Regions from separate parts of the Homo sapiens genome. Here all the other regions are linked to region 5. The links are contacts of gene promoters, found by promoter capture Hi-C in blood cells and fetal thymus (Javierre and others, 2016). All regions are on one chromosome and are shown on one strand. Each heading gives the region's core, a stretch centred on a gene start or on the middle of the fragment in contact. The rest is flanking DNA. Distances are from core to core; before and after follow the strand shown. Region 1 overlaps WASHC4 (WASH complex subunit 4). Region 2 overlaps APPL2 (adaptor protein, phosphotyrosine interacting with PH domain and leucine zipper 2). Region 3 overlaps LOC105369947 (a long non-coding RNA gene). Region 4 overlaps WASHC4 (WASH complex subunit 4). Region 5 holds the start of SLC25A3 (solute carrier family 25 member 3). Region 6 overlaps WASHC4 (WASH complex subunit 4). Region 7 overlaps EEA1 (early endosome antigen 1).

Evidence for each region. Contacts are between HindIII fragments. The CHiCAGO score rates a contact against its expected background, and 5 or more counts as called.
Region 1: a fragment that was not itself captured here is called in contact with the fragment with the promoter of SLC25A3 in region 5 in 1 of 17 cell types (neutrophils); the score reaches 6.1 in neutrophils.
Region 2: a fragment that was not itself captured here is called in contact with the fragment with the promoter of SLC25A3 in region 5 in 1 of 17 cell types (neutrophils); the score reaches 6.7 in neutrophils.
Region 3: a contact is called between a fragment that was not itself captured here and the fragment with the promoter of SLC25A3 in region 5, in 1 of 17 cell types (neutrophils). The highest score is 5.7, in neutrophils.
Region 4: a fragment that was not itself captured here is called in contact with the fragment with the promoter of SLC25A3 in region 5 in 1 of 17 cell types (neutrophils); the score reaches 9.9 in neutrophils.
Region 6: a fragment that was not itself captured here is called in contact with the fragment with the promoter of SLC25A3 in region 5 in 1 of 17 cell types (neutrophils); the score reaches 13.7 in neutrophils.
Region 7: a contact is called between a fragment that was not itself captured here and the fragment with the promoter of SLC25A3 in region 5, in 1 of 17 cell types (total CD4 T cells). The highest score is 6.5, in total CD4 T cells.

What each region holds. Positions count from the first base shown.
Region 1 is chr12:105,147,264-105,150,206 of GRCh38, reverse strand. WASHC4 (WASH complex subunit 4) reads right to left here. Exons shown (of 33, transcript NM_015275.3): 25 at 458-592. Among named protein-coding and RNA genes, the nearest start is that of WASHC4, 41 kb to the right of the region's middle. The HindIII fragment of the contact is 9,694 bases long and covers 1-2,943 here.
Region 2 is chr12:105,186,647-105,189,346 of GRCh38, reverse strand. It overlaps APPL2 (adaptor protein, phosphotyrosine interacting with PH domain and leucine zipper 2), which reads left to right. Exons shown (of 21, transcript NM_018171.5): 17 at 900-1,074. Among named protein-coding and RNA genes, the nearest start is that of APPL2, 48 kb to the left of the region's middle. The HindIII fragment of the contact is 6,846 bases long and covers 1-2,700 here.
Region 3 is chr12:104,142,022-104,144,988 of GRCh38, reverse strand. All of the region lies in intron 1 of LOC105369947 (a long non-coding RNA gene), which reads right to left. Among named protein-coding and RNA genes, the nearest start is that of NFYB, 5.3 kb to the right of the region's middle. The HindIII fragment of the contact is 3,300 bases long and covers 1-2,967 here.
Region 4 is chr12:105,164,568-105,167,541 of GRCh38, reverse strand. WASHC4 (WASH complex subunit 4) reads right to left here. Exons shown (of 33, transcript NM_015275.3): 32 at 2,802-2,901; 33 at 1-678. The coding sequence ends at 611. Among named protein-coding and RNA genes, the nearest start is that of WASHC4, 58 kb to the right of the region's middle. The HindIII fragment of the contact is 3,528 bases long and covers 1-2,974 here.
Region 5 is chr12:98,592,428-98,595,171 of GRCh38, reverse strand. It overlaps SLC25A3 (solute carrier family 25 member 3), which reads right to left and starts at 1,486. Exons shown (of 8, transcript NM_002635.4): 1 at 1,432-1,486; 2 at 1,037-1,197. The coding sequence starts at 1,193. RefSeq lists enhancers at 447-1,071, 1,395-1,494, 1,072-1,696, 1,745-1,964. The HindIII fragment of the contact is 3,126 bases long and covers 1-2,186 here.
Region 6 is chr12:105,128,807-105,131,817 of GRCh38, reverse strand. All of the region lies in intron 13 of WASHC4 (WASH complex subunit 4), which reads right to left. Among named protein-coding and RNA genes, the nearest start is that of WASHC4, 23 kb to the right of the region's middle. The HindIII fragment of the contact is 4,632 bases long and covers 1-3,011 here.
Region 7 is chr12:92,925,795-92,928,748 of GRCh38, reverse strand. The region is part of intron 1 of EEA1 (early endosome antigen 1); the gene reads left to right. Among named protein-coding and RNA genes, the nearest start is that of EEA1, 2.0 kb to the left of the region's middle. RefSeq lists a silencer at 1-64 and an enhancer at 1,165-1,294. The HindIII fragment of the contact is 598 bases long and covers 1,325-1,922 here.

The DNA of each region.
Region 1 (2,943 bases), core at 127-2,626, 6.6 Mb before region 5:
TACTGACGTGATGAGCACAGTGCAAAATGCTATGTATAATATTACTCCATTTTTACTATACTGCTTTTAAAAGCAATATATGTGTGTAAATATACATGTTTATATACAAAGATATCTGAAAGCCATCACACTACATTGTTAGCAACTGCCTCCAGAAAATGGAATGGAAAGAGAAATGAAGGTGGATATTCAGTTTATCCATTCTATATTGCTTAAATGTTTCAAAATAAGCATGTCCTGCTTTTATATTATTTTAAAATAAAGAAAAAGTATCACCTGGCTACATTTATGATTTAATTTTTTCCTTACCTTAAGCCTACAGATAATGCAGAGTAAGAAATTATAGGGAAAATAAAACTAAAACCCCAATAGAGATCTAAATAATGAATTTTAGCATACACATTTGCCATATACTCAATAGCTTAATCAAATACCTTAAAAAGAATAGGTAGCCTACCTTATGATCATTTTGGTCCTTAATTTCCCTGAAAAATCGAATATCTTTAATCAATCTGGATTTGATGTGTTCATCATACATAAATTGGCTAAATATATAGAACTTCTTTTTCAAAAACTGGTAGGTGAAATTAACCTATAAAATTAAAATTCAAAAAGTTGAAAAAAGTTAATATAAAAATTAATTCAAATCAATTCAAATAAATTTTACTGTATCACAGTTATCTATTTGTACTACCTATAAAGTACTATTTAAAAAGTCTATTTCATATTGGACCTGAAAATATTTAAATAACATTTTTTATTGCTGAAGTTCACAAAACTTTCTATAAGCTCCTCTTACATATTTTTACTAAAAAAGAAAAAAGAAAAGAAAAAAGTGGAAAATATTCTCATGATAGGACTAAGGGCTGTAGTGAGAATCACAAAACCAGACTCAAGACTCTAGTTTTTAAGCCATGGTCCAGTGAGAAGTTTCTATGTTCCTCCATCAGTAAGATTACTTATTGCTAATCTACAGGTCTAGAATGATACTAAAGTAAGAAACATGGTGTTCTCTGAACCTTCCTGAAGATACCACATATTCAATTATCTATCCATAAATATTTCTAATCACCTCTTACACACAAGGCAACGTGCCTTCTCCCATGCTAGACATGGTCCTTGTCTTCACGAAGTTTATATTCTAGAACAGGTGACAAACATTTTAAACAAGTATTGTTAAATAAATTATTAAATCTCTACTGTAATAATTTCTCAGAATGTTAAGTACATGTGTGCTTTGACAATAAATAACAAAAAGCCCTTGACTCAGAAAATCCTAAGAAAGTGAGGTATGAGCTGAGATTAAAGTCAAAATAGCACAGTAAAATTAATTCTAACCTACAGATGGAAATAGCAAAAGATTAATTCCAACCTACAGGCAGAAATAGCATAAGATTAATTCCAACCTACAAATGAAAACCCTAAATTCATTTCCAACCCCACTAACTCTCAAGTATTACTAATGATTTTGACAAATTTGTGCCCGTTTTACTCAGTATTCATTTACCCAATTATGGAAACAAATGATTTTCGGGAACTTATCTTGTAGCTTAAACATTGTACTCTCTCCTTGTTTTTTCTGTTTCTTTGCATTTTTAAAAAAATCTCTTTAACAGTCTTTTGTTTTTAATCCTTTCCACTCTTAATAGTGGGTAACTATTCTGCCATCCTGATTTCTATCCTTCTATGCTCATTTCATCAACAGACATCAGTAATCTACATTCATTAGTGTAATTAACTGATGAACATCTATATCCCTGTGATTACTGTGAAAGCAGGAAATGTGTTTTTCTCACACTAGTGCCCAGCACAGTCCCTGACACATAAAATACATTCACATCTGTTACATGAATATTTGATAGATGATAGAAGTCAAGGAAGAGTTTACTCTCAAAAGTTCAGTTTTATTTATCCTCAAAGGTACAAACATGATCATTACATGGATGACTCTTCATTTGGAATTTAAAATTGTATGTTTCATTTCTATATTGATAACCCCACTATAATGGAGCTCCAATCATATCACTCATTGGCTCAAAATCTTCAATGCTTTTCCACTGTATACTTAAATGATCCCAACTTAACTTTCCATTTTCTCCCAATTCCCTACTCCAAATGTGTTTAATAATACTGTACTACTTAAGCATTCAGTCTTCTCCCCTAAAGGAGAAATTAACTGTGCTCTGAAAACCAGGTAAATTCAAAGACTTCTCTTTTTCCACAGACAGAAAAATAGCATACGAGTTCAAATAATTCCTTCAAGTGAATGCCCATTTCGTTTTTGTTTGTTTTTTTTTTTTTGAGATGGAGTTTCGCTCTTGCTGCCCAAGCTGGAGTGCAATGGCGCAATCTCAGCTCACTGCAACCTCTGCCTCCCAGGTTCAAGCGATTCTCCTGCCTCAGCCTCCCAAGCAGCTGGGATTACAGGCGCCCGCCACCACGCCTGGCTAATTTTGTATTTTTAGTAGAGATGGGGTTTCTCCATGTTGGTCAGGCTGGTCTTGAACTCCCAACCTCAGGTGATCCTCCTGCTTCAGCCTCCCAAAGTGCTGGGATTACAAGCGTGAGCCACCACGCCAAGCGGTGAATGCCCATTTCTAAGAAGATTCAATATATTTTTAGTAAGTTCCTATTTATATGGACATCAAATAATTAGCAAACCCTGCCCCAAAAAGGGCATAAATAACATTAAGTAAATTACTATCTATTGTTGACTTTCAAAAGTAAACTTTCAGGGATCACAGATCAACACAGATAAACATATATATATGTGTGCACACACATATATTAATGTGCTGATGTCCTCAAATATCTAGCACTATTTATAATGATGGCTCTGAGATGGTAATCTACCCTAAAGTGTCTTTTGTATCACAGCTCCCATCACATCCAACACAATTTTAGGACCAGACATTTTAATTACTAACCAGAAAAAAAATGGAA
Region 2 (2,700 bases), core at 49-2,548, 6.6 Mb before region 5:
TTAAGAACGTATCTGATGGCCGGCACGCTGGCTCACGCCTGTAATCCCAGCACTTTTGGAGGCCGAGGCAGGTGAATCACGTGAGCTTAGGAGTTCAAGACCAGCATGGGCAACACAGTGAGAACCCTGTCTCTACAAAAATATATATATATATACAAAAATTAGCCAGGTGTAGTGACAGGTGCCTGTAATCCTAGCTACTCAGGAGGCTGAGACATGAGAATCACTTGAACCTGGGAGGCGGAGGTTGCAGTGAGCTGAAATCATGCCATTGCACTCCAGCCTGGGCTACAGAGTGAGACCCTGTCTCAAAAAAGAAAAAAAAGAAAAAACCTTCTTTGGTCTTCTAGTTATGGTTGCTGGGAGTCAGTTTTGTCAAGTTATGCGCCACTGTCAGCAGCCAGGACTGACTTCCTTTAGGCTATGAAACATCATCACTGCCTTTCCGTAATACACATGAAGTATGAATTGCATGAGACCCAACATGAGATCTTATATCCTGCAAATAAAATTTCTTTTCTAAGAGGACTTTATCAGTGGGCCAAAGTAATGAATTTTCTATTGTCTAGTGAACTCACTCTTTTCAGAGAAAAGGTACAATGTAGTCACCTAGAGTTTCAGCATTAGAAGGATGTTCATCTGGTACCACCATCATTTCATTTTATAGATGAAGAAAAGCCTTTCTAGTCTAATGAAGTAGTTCCAAACAAACTGACAAGATGTAGACAAATGGAAGACGCAGAGCTTTGGCAATATTGGGCTTATAAAAGTGGTATTGAGAAATTTTGGTAGAAAGTCCTCCACAGAAAGCAGGCAAAACTAGCACATCTGACCCTGGTATGCAGATCAACAGCAGCAGGAAGTAAATGAGATCCTGAGTGGAAAATGCTGTCTTCCAGATTCTCTTTTGCAGCAGATGTTTATAGTTCGGTTTTTGGGATCAATGGCAGTTAAAACAGACAGCACTACTGAAGTGATTTATGAAGCGATGAGACAAGTATTGGCTGCTCGGGCTATTCATAACATCTTCCGCATGACAGAATCCCATCTGATGGTCACCAGTCAATCTTTGAGGTACGTTCAGTTTTATTTTCAGACTTTCTTATGGCTTCAGCTAATTCCCCTTTTAAGGCTAATGCACCCATCTGAAATGTTAGTACTGGAATGAAGAGACTACTCTTGCTTTTGCCCCCACTACTTTTTACATAAGATAGATAGCCTAGAAAGTGCTCCCTTAGAGACAAGAACTGGTATCTTCAAAAATCCAGTGGTGAGTGAATACTGTTGTTCACAAAGATGCCATCACACTAGACTTATTCTCTATATTATAGCTCAGAGCTTGAAAATGGAAGTTTTTTGGTTTTGCTTTTTTTTTTTCATTTCTGAGAGTACTATTTATAAAAAATAATGGAAAAAAACTTAAAAATCTGCCTAAATAACTTGGCCATCACAGAGAGAGCAGGCCATATTAACTACATGATTTAGTGTTTCAGGTAATACGATCTGGGTTTCAGATATGACCAAAATCCTGGTTATGAACATGGGTGTATGATACTGTAGCCACAGGTAGCATCTGCAGCAAAACTAGCCTGAACTGAGATGTGTTTTCAGTGTTAAATACATACCAAATTTCTAAGATTTAGGATGTAAAACATCTCACTAATTTTTTAGGTTAATCACATGTCTGGTAATATTTTAGATATACTGGATTAAGTAAAATTAATTTTATCTGTTACTTTTCACTTAATGTGGCCGCTGGAAAAACTTCGATGACATATAAGGCTTCCATTACATTTCTAAGGGACAGCACTGCTTTAGAGCCAGAATGTCTCAGTTTATTCCTGGCTTCGGCATTTCTTAGTTATGTGACCTTAAGCAAATTTTTGAGCCTCTGTACCTCAGTTTTTTCAGCTGTAAAATGAAAGTAACTATTCACACCCTCCACTGTTGTCATGAGGAATAAATGTCATGAGGAATAAATGTGCTAATATATGTAAGACATTTACAACTCACTGGCACATGAAAAGTGCTCAATGAACGTTAGCTTCAAAAAAGGTAACTAGGACTATAGCAAAAATTAGGATATAGCTTCTTCCATTCATTAAGCCCATCCTTTTCATTTATTATGAACCTTATCTGAGAATTAAGTTCTTATTAATAAAACCTGTTCTTTCACTATGTCCTGGACCTTTTACAGAAATGGGCTCATGGTTCTTATAATCCTATTGGTCCTGGAATAATTTCCACCAAAAAGATCAAAGGAAAATATATGTAAAAGTACTGTGAAAAACCACAGCACATCAAAGTGAAAAGAAAAACTACAGAATGGGAAAAAAGTATTCACAAATTCTATCTAATATGGATGTAGTACACAAAATATACAAAGAACTCTTATAAAACTCAACAGAAAGACAACCCAATTAAAAAATGGACCAAGGACTTGAAATAGACATTTTTCCAAAGATCATATACAAATGGCCAATGAGGACATGAAAAGATGCTATGTGTTACTAGGGAAATGCAAAACAAATCCACAATGAGATATGTCACTCCATATTAAGATGGCGTGCGCACGCATGCACACTGTCTCACAGATGTTTATATATATATGATATATATGATATATATATGATATGATATATGATATGATATATGATATATATATGATATATCATATATATGATATATATGATATCGATA
Region 3 (2,967 bases), core at 163-2,662, 5.5 Mb before region 5:
TAGCTGGGATTACAGGCACCTGCTGCCATACCCGTCTAATCTGTGTATTTTTAGTAGAGATCAGATTTCACCATGTTGGCCAGGCTGGTCTCGAACTCCTGACCTCAAGTGATCTGCCTGCCTCAGCCTCCCAAAATGTTGGCATTACAGGTGTGAGCCATTGTGCCCGGCCCTCACAATTTTAGAACATTTTCATCACCTCACAGAGAAACTCTATACCTTTTAGCTATCACACCTCGGGCTCTCCCATCTCCTCCCTTAGCCCCCCACCAAAGAATAATCTGCCTTCTCTCTCTATGGATTTGACTATTCTAGATATTTAATATAAATGAAATCATATAATCTGTGGTCCTTTGTGTCTGACTCCTTTTACTTAGATAATGATTTCAAGGTTAATCCATGTTGTAGCATATATTAGAGCTTCATTTGTTTTTATGGCCAAATGATATTCCATTGCATTGATATATCATATTTGCCCAGCTACTTGGGAGGCTGAGGCAGGTGAATCACTTGAAGCTGTGAGGTGGAGGTTGCAGTGAGCTGAGACCGTGCCATTGCACTTCAGCCTAGGCAACAAGAGCGAAACTCTGTCTCGAAATAAATAAATAAATAAAAATAAAAGAAGAAAGCTGCCATAAATGTATATGTTTTTGTATGGATATATATTTTCATTTATCTTGGGCATACACCAGGAGTGGAATTGCTGGGTCAAATGGTAACTTTTATGTTTAGCTATTTGAGGAACAACCAGACTGTTTTCCACAGTGGCTGTACCACTTTACATTCCCACCAGCAGTGTGTGAAGGTTCCAGTTTCACCATATCCTTGACAACACTTGTTACTATCGATCTTTCTGATTCTGGCCATCTAGGTGGGTGTGCAGTGATATCTCACTGTGGTTTGATTTGAATTTCCCTTATGACTAATGATGTTGAACATCTTGGCATATGCTTGTTGGCCATCTGTGTATCTTCTTTAGAGAAAAGTCTATGGGGACCCTTTGAATAAATAGTTTTTTTTTTTTTTTATAAGAGGGACTGGGGCCAGGTTTGAGGCTTGGTTTCCAGCTGTGTGACTTCTTGGTTTCTTAAACTATGAGCTTGTTTTCATGTCTTTTGAGTTGGGCAAATAACACCTATTTCATAAGGTCATTGTGTGGCTGAAATGAGAAAACATGCAGGTAGCATTTAGCAGAGTTCCTGATATGTAGTAACTATATAATAGATGAGAGCTGTTTTCATGATTTTTTTAAAAGGTAACAACACAATAAGAACTATGTTTTCTATGACCTGGCATTCATATGTAGGATTAAGAAAACAAGTTTTCAGGAAGATTAATATGGCCATGTTATATTAAATGGACAGGGACACCAGTTTGGAAATGACCCAAGAGTTTAAGCAAAAAAATAAAGGAAATGAGAAAAGAATGTTCTCTGCCCTTCTTTCCTATCAGAGACAAGGATTTCCTCCTGTCCTCAGCCTCAGCAGCCCTAGAAACGAGAGTGATCTTGCTGCTTTTTCAAGCTGATCAAGGATTTTTTAGTCATCTTTGTATATTAACTTACCCAATACCTGGGGAAATAGTGATGAATATGTTTTGGATTTTTTGATTAACACATCATAATAATGTGAGGAATTTTAAATGTGTTCATTAACTGTGTTTCTGTGGAGGAAGATGGCACATAAGGCTTTGGTAATCTCAGGGTCATTTATATTATCAATTAAAACAATTTTATACCATACCTGTGCATGCATTCATTTAGTACATACTTATGAAGCCCCTACTATGTGCCAGGCACTGTTTTAGGCTCTGAGAATACAATGGTGAACACAAGGTCTTTGCACTAAAGGAGTTTATATTCTAAAAAGGTGAAACATTCAAAGTCCATTCATTCAACAAATATTGAGTACCAACTGAATGCTGGACACTATTTTAGATGTGTGGGATGCATTGGTAAACAAAACAAGCCAAATTCCTTGTCCTCATAGGGCTTACATTTTAGTGGGAAGAGACAGACAATAAATCATAAACATAACAAATAAGGAAACTATATAATATGTTAGAGGGTTATAGCTGAGTGGGGGTAGGGAGTTGGAATTGCAATTTTTAGATAAGTGATCAGGGCTGGCCCCATTAAGACATGGAAGGAGGTGAGGGAGTGAGCTATGTGGCTATCTGAGGGAGAATGTACTAGGCAGATGGAACAGCCAGTGCAGAGCCCCTGAGGCAGGAGCATTCCTGGCAGAAATAAGGACTGCAAGGAGTGCAATTAGCAAAGGAAAAGGTAGGAGGAGATGAGGGTAGAGGGGGAGCGGAAAGGGAATAGATCAAAGATCCCATAGGTTGTTGCCCAGTGAAGAGGCCACCATTCACGTCTGCAACAATTAAGTGCTGAACATATTTCTTGCTAACCAGAGGACAGCAGTACTTGTAAGACAGTGTCTCTGAACAAAGGAATCTGTGAATCTTATACAGTGTTTTGGGAAGCATGGGGTTCGGAGGTTGGGGAACTCTTAGAAGCTGGACTGTTTAGAGATGAGTTGAACTTTAGATGTGGAAGAAGGATTACTAGAGTGTGGCTGTTGCTGATTGGCTAATTTTCAGAAGCAAGTCACTGATCAGGAGATTGTTATTGATTGATTAAAACAGATTCTGGTTGTTTCTTGTCACTATGACCAAAGAACAATCAGTATCTTTTTGTTGCTCAATTTGGAATGAAGGAACTTGCCACTCTGTCTTACAAGGCCACTGGAAAGTCTTTGTCTTTTACTTTGAGAGAAATGAGGAGTTAATAGGGGATTTTTGAGCAGTGGAGTGACAGGATTTGACTTATATTTTCAGAGGATCTGAAATCTTGGCTGCTGTGTACCAGAGTGGAAGAGGGGAGACAAGTCACTGCAGTCACCCTGATGAGAGATGTATTAGGTTGTTGTTGCATTCCTGTAAAGAAATACCTGAGACTATGTA
Region 4 (2,974 bases), core at 400-2,899, 6.6 Mb before region 5:
TCTCATCAAAGACATCAGCAGCTCTTGTGAGTCACATGAAATTAACAATGAAAGAAGGATCATCAGTTATACTGTACACTGAGAGTACATAAAACACTTGTGCCTCACCTCTAGTATCAAAGCCATCTTCATATATTCCTTTTATAAGAATATTGATATGTATTCTTTATGAACTTCAGGCTCATTCCTTTTGTTAAGCATGTATTTACTGGCTGTATATAGTATATGCATTGAATTTCCCATGACTTGAAATAACTATAGATCAAAGATCTATGCAAATACAAATTACAAACATGTAGATTACAAGAAATCCGAGGTGATAGTTTATGAATCTGGATTTGCCCTTTTATAACTTCACTTCAAATAGAAACATCTTGTACCCTCAAGTCCAGGCAAAAATCCAATTTTAAAATCTCATTCTTAACCTTTGAAAGTAGAGCCTTTGGAAACAGAATGAACTTCACTTTAAAGCACTGCCTTTAAGAACTGTAACATCTATTTTCCAGAGATGTGACCCAGGAAACAATTCATCAATAGTTTATCCATTCCACTGGCAAAAGTTTTAACAATTCTGATGATTTCATCATATGTGCAGTGAATACCATCCGTATCATTTCACAACAGGATCAGCAGACACAGTGCTGTCAGACAGGTCTCCATTGCTTGTTTTAGTTTCTTCTGAAAGCATGAGTGAAAATAATAATGGATATTTATGTTCATTTTTAAACAATAAATTAAGAAGTAAAAGAAATTTGAGAAGAGCTGTATTGCCAAACTTCAAATTACAGTTGCATCCATCAAATGTTTCTCTAACATCACAAATTATACCTTGTTTACACTTTAAAATTTTTAAAAATCTAGGCTAAACACTGCAATTGTTTCCACTGGTTTTTAATGAAGGTGGAGTTGAGGGAGCTCAGAACCTGTATTGGGGTGGGGCTTCAAACCACATGGGCTCCTTTGTCCTGAGGAATCTTGATATTCCTGGTCTAAGAAAGGCCCGCTCCCCTCACGCCAGTTCCTCCAGCTGGGCCAAGAAAGAACCATTACAGTACATTGTCATTCCTGGTAGGAACATGGCTGCAAACTCACATATCAAAACTGTCCAGAATGAATAACTTTCCATTTGTATTTATAACTTATTATAATAAATTATACGTAATATATATTATTTCTTAAAATAATTTTAAATGAAACAGCTTTTCACTGTTTTTGACAGAATGAATTCCTGGCTTTTTGTGCAAAATGTCATGTGTGCATATTTCATTAACAGACAAAGACTATTTGAGTAATGTATTCAGAAACTGACTATATCTCTGAGCAATCTTTAGCTGAAATAGTCTTAGAACAGTGATGTGAGTGATAACATAACAACTGCAACTCTGGAGAGTTCCTTAAGAGGAATAGGCCAAAGCAAGGAATCCCACTGCCATGAGACTGAAGGGTTGTTTGTTTTGTTTTAATGCTTTAGCCTGAAAGCAAATGTCCAATCGCCCCGCAGAGTTTTCCCAGTCACCTGGGCTGGGGAAAAGGTTCTGGCATCATGAAACACATGAGCAGAACTGAGGCAATAACTGAGTTTCTTCATAATTTAGATTATATTGATTCAAATTCTTCCAAATGGCTTTGCTAATTTATCCTTGAAAATGAACACAAATGTAGTATGTATAAATTTTCATTTAATATTGAGTGTCTTCCAGATTAATAAGCTGAAACAATTTTTTCAAGCATGTTTATTTAGTCTAGATTCAAAAAACGCCTGGATATGCACCTAATTAATAAGTAATATTAGTAATATTTAATTTATGCAACAATGTCAAGAAATAAGGTAGTTCACGTAAGTGGTCTACCCAATGAGTCACCTCTACTCTATATAAAGAAAAAAGGTGTATTTTAAAAATTAACATAAAATAAGATTAATAAAAACATCTTGTTTTATGAAGAGCTTTATATCTTGATTTATGAAAACTTCATGAAGCACGAGTAAGACAAAAAGGAGACTAGTAAACATGAAAATTATAAGGGTTAACTAGTCGCTGTATCTAGTTTTGATCTTCCAAGCAATGAGAAATGTATGCTATATAATATCCATGACAGAAAAAGGGAAACATCTGTTTCTCAGAGAAGATGATTATTCCTAAATTTCAAATCTGAGAGAAATATATCATGGGGACATTAAATATGAAACACTGAACAATGCTCTTACGCCTTAAAAAGTATAGATTCCTTTCCACCATCCTACATAGAATACAATGGACAGAATCCTTTCCTTAATGACTGAAGTTCATTGAAATCACTATCAGTTATTATGGCTATATTGCCTGAGTCTCCAGGGCCTGACTATGAAAGAAGGCAGGATGCTATTTACTACAACTAAATAGCCCCTATGATTTTACAGTTCTTTAATCATCTGTCCCATCTCATTCAGTCAACATCTAGTCATCAGCAGCTCTGCCTTCAGCAACATTTAGCTGTCCTCCTCTATTTGTTCCTTCAAATCTAATAGTTTGAGCCATGAAAGAAAAACCAAACTTGTGAAAAGTGTATTTAAATTAAAAGCAGATGATCCTGAACAAGGTTTTAAAGGGTTACCAAGTGTGAAATGCATAAACTACATAAATTCCTTTTCAATTTCACACAAGATCTATACAGGCTTTACTTTTTTTAAAAGACTTAATGCTAGGTCTGTGTTATTTTCCAAAAGGACAAAGAAGCTAGATGTCTGACCAGATAAAATGGTGCATTACTGTCTATTACTAAAGACATTTATTGGTCTTTCCAAATTTAAACCACTCACTGACCTTCCTTCTCTTTCTTTTCTTGGTTTTCTTCAGCCGCAGTCTTGTCTGCTCTGAAGAAAATTCTTGCACTGCTCAGTGAGAAATACAGCAATTCAAATTCCTAAGTAAATTTAAAAATTTGAAATAAAAACCAAAAATACTTATTATGGCAAAATACCAAAAATATATGCATT
Region 5 (2,744 bases), core at 237-2,736:
ATTAAAGTCAAACTTCAAATTATTAACCACTGGTAAGAGCACACTTCAGAGTACAAACGAAACTCAGAAAGATCACTCGACATGTAAAAGGCTTGCAAACAACTTCAAAGTTTATCCCAGCCACTAACCAATACTATCCCCACTTAAGAACTCCTGTAACATAAAAACGGATACGCACAAATTCCTGCAGTCAAATACATTTAATACACAAATAATGTTAGCTTTAACTTTTAAACTGAACGACAGATAGTGTAAATAAGGACTCTATCCATACTAAAGACAACAGAAGCACATGAATGATTTAAAGAAAAAAATCTTTCGATTTTACAGGCACAAGGTAGATAACATTCTTAGGACTCCTACAATTCGGTTTTCAGGTTTCTCTGTATGTACATACTTCACTAGGATTTAAAACACACACAACTAAGTTAAAGCTGGGCCCAACCACCAAGAATCCCAAGAGATAATCACACCAAAGGGACGCCCACCAATTATCTCCTTTCTATTGCCTATGTAGGGCTGCAAGCTGCCTCCTCCAGTCGCACGAAAACAGGACATCTAGTTATCTCATATACAATTAAGTGCAAAAATGACTGACCTGGCGTCGACAAATATAAAACTTAGGAAAGGACTATTTTTAAGAAAACTAAGGGCAAATCAAAGGACAGGTAATATAGTTAGTAGAACTGTGGGTGGTCAGTAGTTTCGGGAGGAGAGTTTACCCAGTACTTAGTTTGCTGACCAAGCGAGCTCACGGCGGAGAAAGAGCTAGTCACGGCCTCTCTTCCCTCGGGCACACGGAGGTCACGAAGGGACACAGGGCCTCAGCGCTTCCACGCCCTTGAGGGAAGGCCAAGGATCTGACACCCGCCTATGGTGGAAAAGGCCGATACCCCAGGGCAAGCAACTGGGCGCCGTCCTACGGTGCAGCGGGCTGGACTCGTCCTTCCCTGTCCTCCAAGCCGGGTCCAGGCCTCAAAGGCTGGGCGGCCCACAAGTAGACCACACGACTGTATTGGGCAGGGTCTGATCTCACCTTCCACGGCGGCGGCTGCCAGGTTGCGAGGGCGGCGGGGCTGGCCCGTGGGCCCTGGGGAGCTGCTGCGGAGGTCCCCGAGACCATCGTGCACCAGCTGCAGATGTGGCGTGTTGAAGGGGTTCGCCCGCGCCAGGTGCGCCACGGACGAGAACATCTTTCTAGGGGAGGAGGGAGCGACGGTTAGAGGACAGGCAAGGCGCCGGTTAACGTTACCGGCGCCCTGGAACCCCAACCGGGGCCTTTTCCTTCCCGTCTCCACGCCCTTGAAGAGGTCACGGCGGCCTTCGAAAGAGGCTGCTCCCGGCTGGGCCCACCGCCAAAGCAGCGGCCCCACAGGAGCTCTGGGCTCCGCTCCCCACACCCGCCACAGGAGAAGGCCCGGCCACACTCACTCCCTAAGATGGCGATCACACAACCACTCCCTTGGAAAGGTTGCGGCTCACAGAGGCCGGACGTCCTCCGGGTCCTAAGATGTGTGCCCTTCGCGCGTCGTCGGCGTGACGCACACAGCGCGCCACTGCAAGTACGCGTCGCCCATTGGTGGAGAAGAGCGCCGAGCCCGTAGCGTCATCGCGTTCTCCTAGCAACCTTATTCCCGCCCCTGCCCGCCCCAGCTCTTCCGCCCGGCTTGTGCGCGGGAGGATTCGTTCTGCGCAGGCGCGCGTTCCGGGTCTATATTTTTTGAGAGGGGTCGGGCTCGAGCTCTTACCCTGCTCGCTTTGTCCCTTCACCTTCAGGTGTCTCTCCTTGACCACGGGCTTCAGTTCGCTTCACTTAAGTGAATCACAGTATCTAGTAGTCACTTAAAAAACAAAACAAAACGCGAATGCTTGATAATATATTTAGGTGTTGGAGTTACAACATCACTGCAGTACTTTGTGTCACAACTTCTGCCATTACAGTACTTTTTAAAATAAGTTCCATCCATTGACATTAAACATAGGTATGTCTGTATTTTTCATCAGACTCCTGGAGAATATTTTAAAAAGAAATGTGCAGCAAGAAGTCTTACGACAGCTTGCCGCGTTATCACAGTAATCTACAGAACACGTTGAAACATTGAACTCCTGAGATGTTACAGCGATGAACTACTGAAAGTGACTGATAGCAGATTGTGCGTGTGTGTGGTTAATACATTTAGGAAGCTTTCATTAGATTCAGCTCAACAGGGAGGGGCGTAGTTTAGTTGGGGAGAGTTTAATAGGGATTCAACCTGTTAGACTTCTGACTCTTATATTTTCCAAGCTCTTGACAAAGTAACCTTGGGAATTTACTTCATCTCTGTGTACCTGTTCCCTAGATGTAAGATAGGGGTGGGACTGGCCTCATAGGTTCACACTGGTACAGTCACACATGGCCTTACACTTCATTTAATGCTCTGCTGTCATTTTGATTTTTTTTTTTTTTCTTTTGAGATGGAGTCTTGCTCTGTCGCCCAGGCTGGAGTGCAGTGGGGCGATCTCAGCTCACCGCAACCTCCGCCTCCCGGGTTCAAGCGATTCTCCTGTCTCAGCCCCCGGAGTAGCTGGGACTACAGGCGTGCACAACCACGCCCGGCTAAGTTTTCTATTTTTAGTAGAGACAGAGTTTCGTCACGTTGGCCAGTCTGGTCTCGAACTCCTGAGCTCAGGTGATCCGCCCACCTCGGCCTCCCAATGTGCTGGGATTACAGGCCTGAGCCACCATGCCCGGCTTGAAATTCTTA
Region 6 (3,011 bases), core at 237-2,736, 6.5 Mb before region 5:
AACACAAATAGTCATACTTTGTGGCTTTGCTTAGAGTGGTGCTGAAACATACTGTTTGACTTATGAATGATTCCTTTTTTAAAAGCCTGGTCCTTTTTTAAAAACAGACAGCACAGTCCTAGAGCAACACCTTCACTTTTGAGGAGGAGGTTGTGATCAAGACTCAGCAGGAATCCCATGTACAGGAGAGAACAGAAAAGTCATAAGCAAGGACCACAGAAAGAGACCTAGGCTAGACTATGGAACTCTCCCTGATGAGCAACTGTGTCAATAACACTATGAAGAAGGCAATAATACACAGTGAACAGCATTCAGCCAGCTTTAGGTAAGGCTATAGGATAATGCAGAGGCTTTTATGTCACTTCTGCCCATCACTCTGTGATCACATCCAGATGACTGATGATCTTTACCTCTTATAAATATATAAAAACAGGCCGGGCGCGGTGGCTCACGCCTGTAATCCCAGCACTTTGGGAGGCCGAGGCGGGTGGATCATGAGGTCAGGAGATCGAGACCATCCTGGCTAACAAGGTGAAACCCCGTCTCTACTAAAAATACAAAAAATTAGCCGGGCGCGGTGGCGGGCGCCTGTAGTCCCAGCTACTCGGGAGGCTGAGGCAGGAGAATGGCGTGAACCCGGGAAGCGGAGCTTGCAGTGAGCCGAGATTGCGCCACTGCAGTCCGCAGTCCAACCTGGGAGACAGAGCGAGACTCCGTCTCAAAAAAAAAAAAAAATAAATAAATAAATAAATATATAAAAACAAAACTGCTTCAAGTTTTAAAAAGCAAGTTAACTGACAAAGAGTACAAAAATCGTGAAGTGTCCTATTGGATTGTCAGTTGCATTTCAAAGTACAAACAGGAAAAATACCAAGGTAAAAAAACAAATCTCCTGCCCCAACATAAAGCACTAAACAGTGTCAACGCCTATATGTCAACATGGGGGGTTGAAACAAAGATTCAGACCTCTGTCCTCTAAAGGCAGTATTTTCCAGTGTTAAAGTGGTTGTGAATCAAAAGCAAAATGCAAAAATCCACAAACCTTGGACCCCAGTCAAGGAGGCAGCTGGGACACTGGCCACTTGGGGTCTGGTGTATAGTATGGGGGCAGGAATACTGTTGCTCATTGCTCTCCATTGCTCCCTACTCACTTACATAAACTCTGAAGCCTGACCTTGGGACACCTCTTAGACAACCCCTCAACTTTCTCTAAAATGTCAGGACAAAGCCCTGCTGATCACATCATCCCTCTGAGTTTCACTTTAGTGGAGTGAATTTTAGGTTTCCTTGACATAACTGCTAAGAGACTGAAAAAAATAACTGTGCCCTTCATCTTCATGGAGCTCTGTAGTAAAGAATTTAGAAACAAAATCTCATCATGTGATAAGTCTTTGAAAGTCAACTTATTCAACTGTCCACTTAGTAAGACTCACTTCCCACAGATCTTGGACTGACAGTTATCTATATTCTGCCTACACAGCTTTAGTGAAGGAGACTACAGAGCAGCCTACACAATGCTACCTGCTGCAGAGGCACCAGAATAGGATTGGCACTGGTTTGAATGCCCTCTCTGACATGTACTTAGCTGTGTGACCTGGCAAAGTTCATTTCTCTAAGACTCATTTTATCTAAAAATGGGATAAAAATGGTTTATAGTAGTAGTTAACAGCCTGGGCTGTAGAGTTGAACTGCCTGCATCTGCCACCTACTAGTTGTTTAAACTTGGGCAAGTTTAATCTCTGTAGGGTTTTCTCATCTACAAAATGGCAACAAAAGTATCTACCTCATACAATTTTCTGATCATTACAGGAGGTATGTGTCAAGTTCCTGGAATACCTACTAGCATATAGTAAGCACTCCATAAACATTAATTGTTACATTTATTATTTTCTGCCGGAAGGCTGTTACATGCTTTATGGAACATGGTATGTTTAAAGCTATTAGCATAATGCCTGCCATAGAGTTGAGAGCTTCATGATGTTGGCAATTATTATCATTACTATCTGTCATCTTCACCTTTTGGTTTTAGTTTAGCCTACTGGAGCCACAGAGATCAAATCTGTTCCCTCTTCATTCTGAATGTCCCTCAAATATTTAAAGAAACCCACCACATCATTCCACAGATTTCTCTTTTAAAGGCCAAACTATACAGACACTAACAAAGAGAAGACAAACAAGAAGGCATGGTTCTCAGACCTTCTGACATCCTGATCAGCTGCATCTAGGGATGCTGCAGTTTGTGACCCTCTCAAAACATGGCACCACCAAACACCAGCTATGATCTGACCAATAAAAATTCCATGGAATATACCTGGGTTATGAAGTAATCTGCACAACAAACCCCCATGACACATGGTTACCTATGTAACAAACCTGCACTTGTATCCTGAACTTAAAAGTTTAAAAATAAAAAATAAAAACAATTTTAAAAAGAGGCCTGGTGTGATGGCTCACGCCTATAATCCCAGCACTTTGGAAGGCCGAGGTGGCGGATCACCTGAGGTCAGGAGTTCAAGACCAGCCTGCCCAACATAATGAAACCTCGTCTCTACTAAAAATACAAAAATTAGCCAGGCGTTGGCGCGGTGGCTCACGCCTGTAATCCCAGCAGTTTGGGAGGCTGAAGCAGGCAGATCACAAGGTCAGGAGTTCGAGACCAGCCTGACTGACGTGGTGAAACCCAGTCTCTACTAAAAATACAAAAATTAGCCGGGCGTGGTGGTGGGTGCCTGTAATCCCAGCTACTCGGGAGGCTGAGGAAGGAAAATCACATGAACCCAGGAGGCGGAGGTTGCAGTGAGCCGAGATCACACCACTGCACTCCAGCCTGGGCGACACAGGGAGACTCTGTCTCAAAAAAAAAAAAAAAAAATGTAGCTGGGCATGGTGGTAGGCACCTGTAGTCCCAGCTACTTGGGAGCTGAAGTAGGAGAACTGCTTGAATCTGGGAGACAGAGGTTACAGTGAGCCAAGATAACACCACTGCACTCCAGCCTGGGCAACAGAGCGAG
Region 7 (2,954 bases), core at 374-2,873, 5.7 Mb after region 5:
TTCCTCCCGGGAACCCTGAGTGGGAGTGAAAATGGAGAGTTGGTGCCCGTGGGACGGGCCAGCCGCCGCCTGCCGGGCTGGAGAACGCCCCATGGGAGATTCGGGCGGCTTGCTTCGCCTTTCCCCACCCGCCGCACTCCCCGTGCCCCCCAATTTGACACGATGCGCACCTGCCACACACGGCCCTGCTTTCTCCTTTGGACCACAGTGGAGGGTGGTGTGGTGAGCCCCGGCCTAGCCTGGGCCCAGGCGTGGGACTGACACTGGCACAGTCAGCCGAGAAGGAAGATGTTACTCACTGTTGGAAACTTTTTTTTTAATTAAAAATATGTTTTCTGTGCAAGCCCCACTACCTTATTTTAGCTATCCAAGAATAAATCCGCAGTAAGCTTGATCAAGTGGTATATACACTTAGTTTCTGCCTGTGCTGTCTCTGAAATCTGGAAAACCTTGAGGATAGAAAGATTAGAGCATTAGAAAACTGTAGGTGTATCATTTAAGAATCAGTTACTAGAATAACATAATTCACATCTCTTTTCCTGTAAGAGTTATTGTACCTGTCAACTTAAATTTGTTTTTTTTTTTTGGTATAGCTTTTTTCTTTTCTTTTTGAGGCTGATAGGGTGTAACAAAATGTAAATGATTGAAAAGTAGGTGCCGAGCCTATTAGTTCTTTACCGAGGGAGTAGGATAACTAGTTCAAAGGACAAAAGAAATTAGTGAATTTGTAGGATTCAGCCGAGGAATGTGCGGAAGAGAGTTGAGTCATCCAGTAGATAGGAAGGGAGTGCTCTTGCTTCTGCCTAGCTTTCTCCTGAAAGAATGAAGTCATGTGAAACTTGGTCAGTTATTAGAGGGAGAAATAGTTAACTTCTTTATCTGACAACCTGTGTTGACATTTAATTGTATTTTGCAGTGTTTTGTGAATTTTGAAATCCCGGTAAGCGATGATTTTGGCAGTAACAAGGGCATGTCCTTTACTTTCCCCATCACTTCCTTAGTTCAGCAGTAAAGACATCTGTGCATGATTTACTTTCAGGCTTTAGGAGATTTTTCTTTTATCAGACCTGGAGGAACTGATTACCTCATGTTTCAGATTGTGTTTCTGTCATAGTTCTGCAAGTGAAAATTAGTTTGCCTGTGGTTTGCTTTGAAGTTTACAAATAAAAGTGTTTACTGGTTTAAGGGTAGCTCAGCTGTAGTTATAGATTGGTTTTCAGAAATATGGGATGCTTTCTAGTAATCTTGGTTTAAAGTTAAACATCGAGATTATATGAAGATCATTTTTAATGTTGGTGCATACCTATCAACTGTTAAAGAAGCTTCTGTTGAAACTACAAAAGTGAAATTGATTGTGGTTATTGCAGAGATGTGATATTGAATCATCACTTCTGAATAAGTCAGTTGACAACTGAGTTTCTTAACGTCGGCGCTATTGGCATTTGTGACTGGATAATTCTGCGTTGTGGGAGGCTGCCCTGTGCCTTGTAAGATGTTAGCAGCATCCCTGGCATCTACCCCCACTAGATGCCAGTAGCATTCCCCTATATCCCTTCCCCCTTGTGACAACCAAAAATAGCTCCAGATTTTACCAAATGTCCCCTAGGGGCAAAATTGCCTCTGGTTGAGAATCACTGTGTTAAATGCATTAACTCTTTAGTAGGAAAGTTTGAAGTGTTTCTCACAGTTAAGTACTTAATTTTCTTTTATTCAGTGTATTTATATTGAGTTTCAGTAAATGCCAGGCTTCATGCTAAGGGGTAGGAAACAGTTGATTAAGCTGTGGGTCCTCCCTTTAGAACTCACAGGCTGTTTGGGAGGTGAACATTTAAAAGTAATGACAGTGCTATGTAATAGAATAATGAAGAGGACAGAGGACCCAGGAGGCACTCTGTGGGAGGTGAGGGCAATTAGGAAAAGCTTCAGGGACGGGGGCATATTCACAGCTCAGAAGAGGGAAGGGCATGTCAGGCAGAGGGAACAGCAAATGCAAAGAGATGGAGTCATAAAAGGCGCAGGTAGTACTGTGAGGAGTGTGAACAATGAAGCTTAGGAAGTGAGATGGTCTGTAGCAATTAGTAAGAGATGAAGCTACCGTGGTGGCTAGAGACCAAATTGTGAGAGGACGTAAGAGTCCCTTTGAAGGAGTTCAGCTTTTATCTTGTAGTTGGGTCAGTGTTAATGCTGAGTATTTAATAGGGACATTTTGATAAATGTCTTAAATCTGGTGATTTACTAGTTTAGAAGGTAGAATATATATTTTATTAACTCTACAAGTGGTATTTACCAACAAGTATAACTTGAATCTTTAAATTGTGTAACATGGCAACCTATTTTACCCCTCCCTGCTAATCTTATTTCTCAGCACAGATATTAAGCTATAAGATTAAAGCTATTGTTAATTTAGAGATTTATTTGAAATGGACTCTGTGCTTTGAAATTATGTGGCATTCCTTGGCTGGGTGCAGTGGCTCATTCCTGTAATCCCAGCACTTTGGGAGGCCGAGACGGGCGGATCACCTGAGGTCGGGAGTTCGAGACCAGCCTGACCAACATGGAGAAACCCTGACTCTACTAAAAATACAAAATTAGCCGGGAGTGGTGGTGCATGCCTATAATCCCAGCGACTCAGGAGGCTGAGGTAGGAGAATCACTTGAACCCGGGAGGTGGAGATTGCAGTGAGCTGAGATTGCTCCATTGCACTCCAGCCTGAGCAACAAGACCGGAACTCCGTCTAAAAAAAAAAAAAAAATTATGTGGCATTCCTTTAGCATTTTGTTTTTAGATGAACTTTTCATTTTAACTATTCTTATTTTCTTCTGAATAGTTTCCTTTAAATAGCATTTTTTAAAAGAAGAAACAGACAAACTGCTTACCATCAATTAGAACTCAAAGTGTTTGAACATCATCAATAAGTCTCAGGATACTTTACGGAAATTTGGTTTCTGGTTCT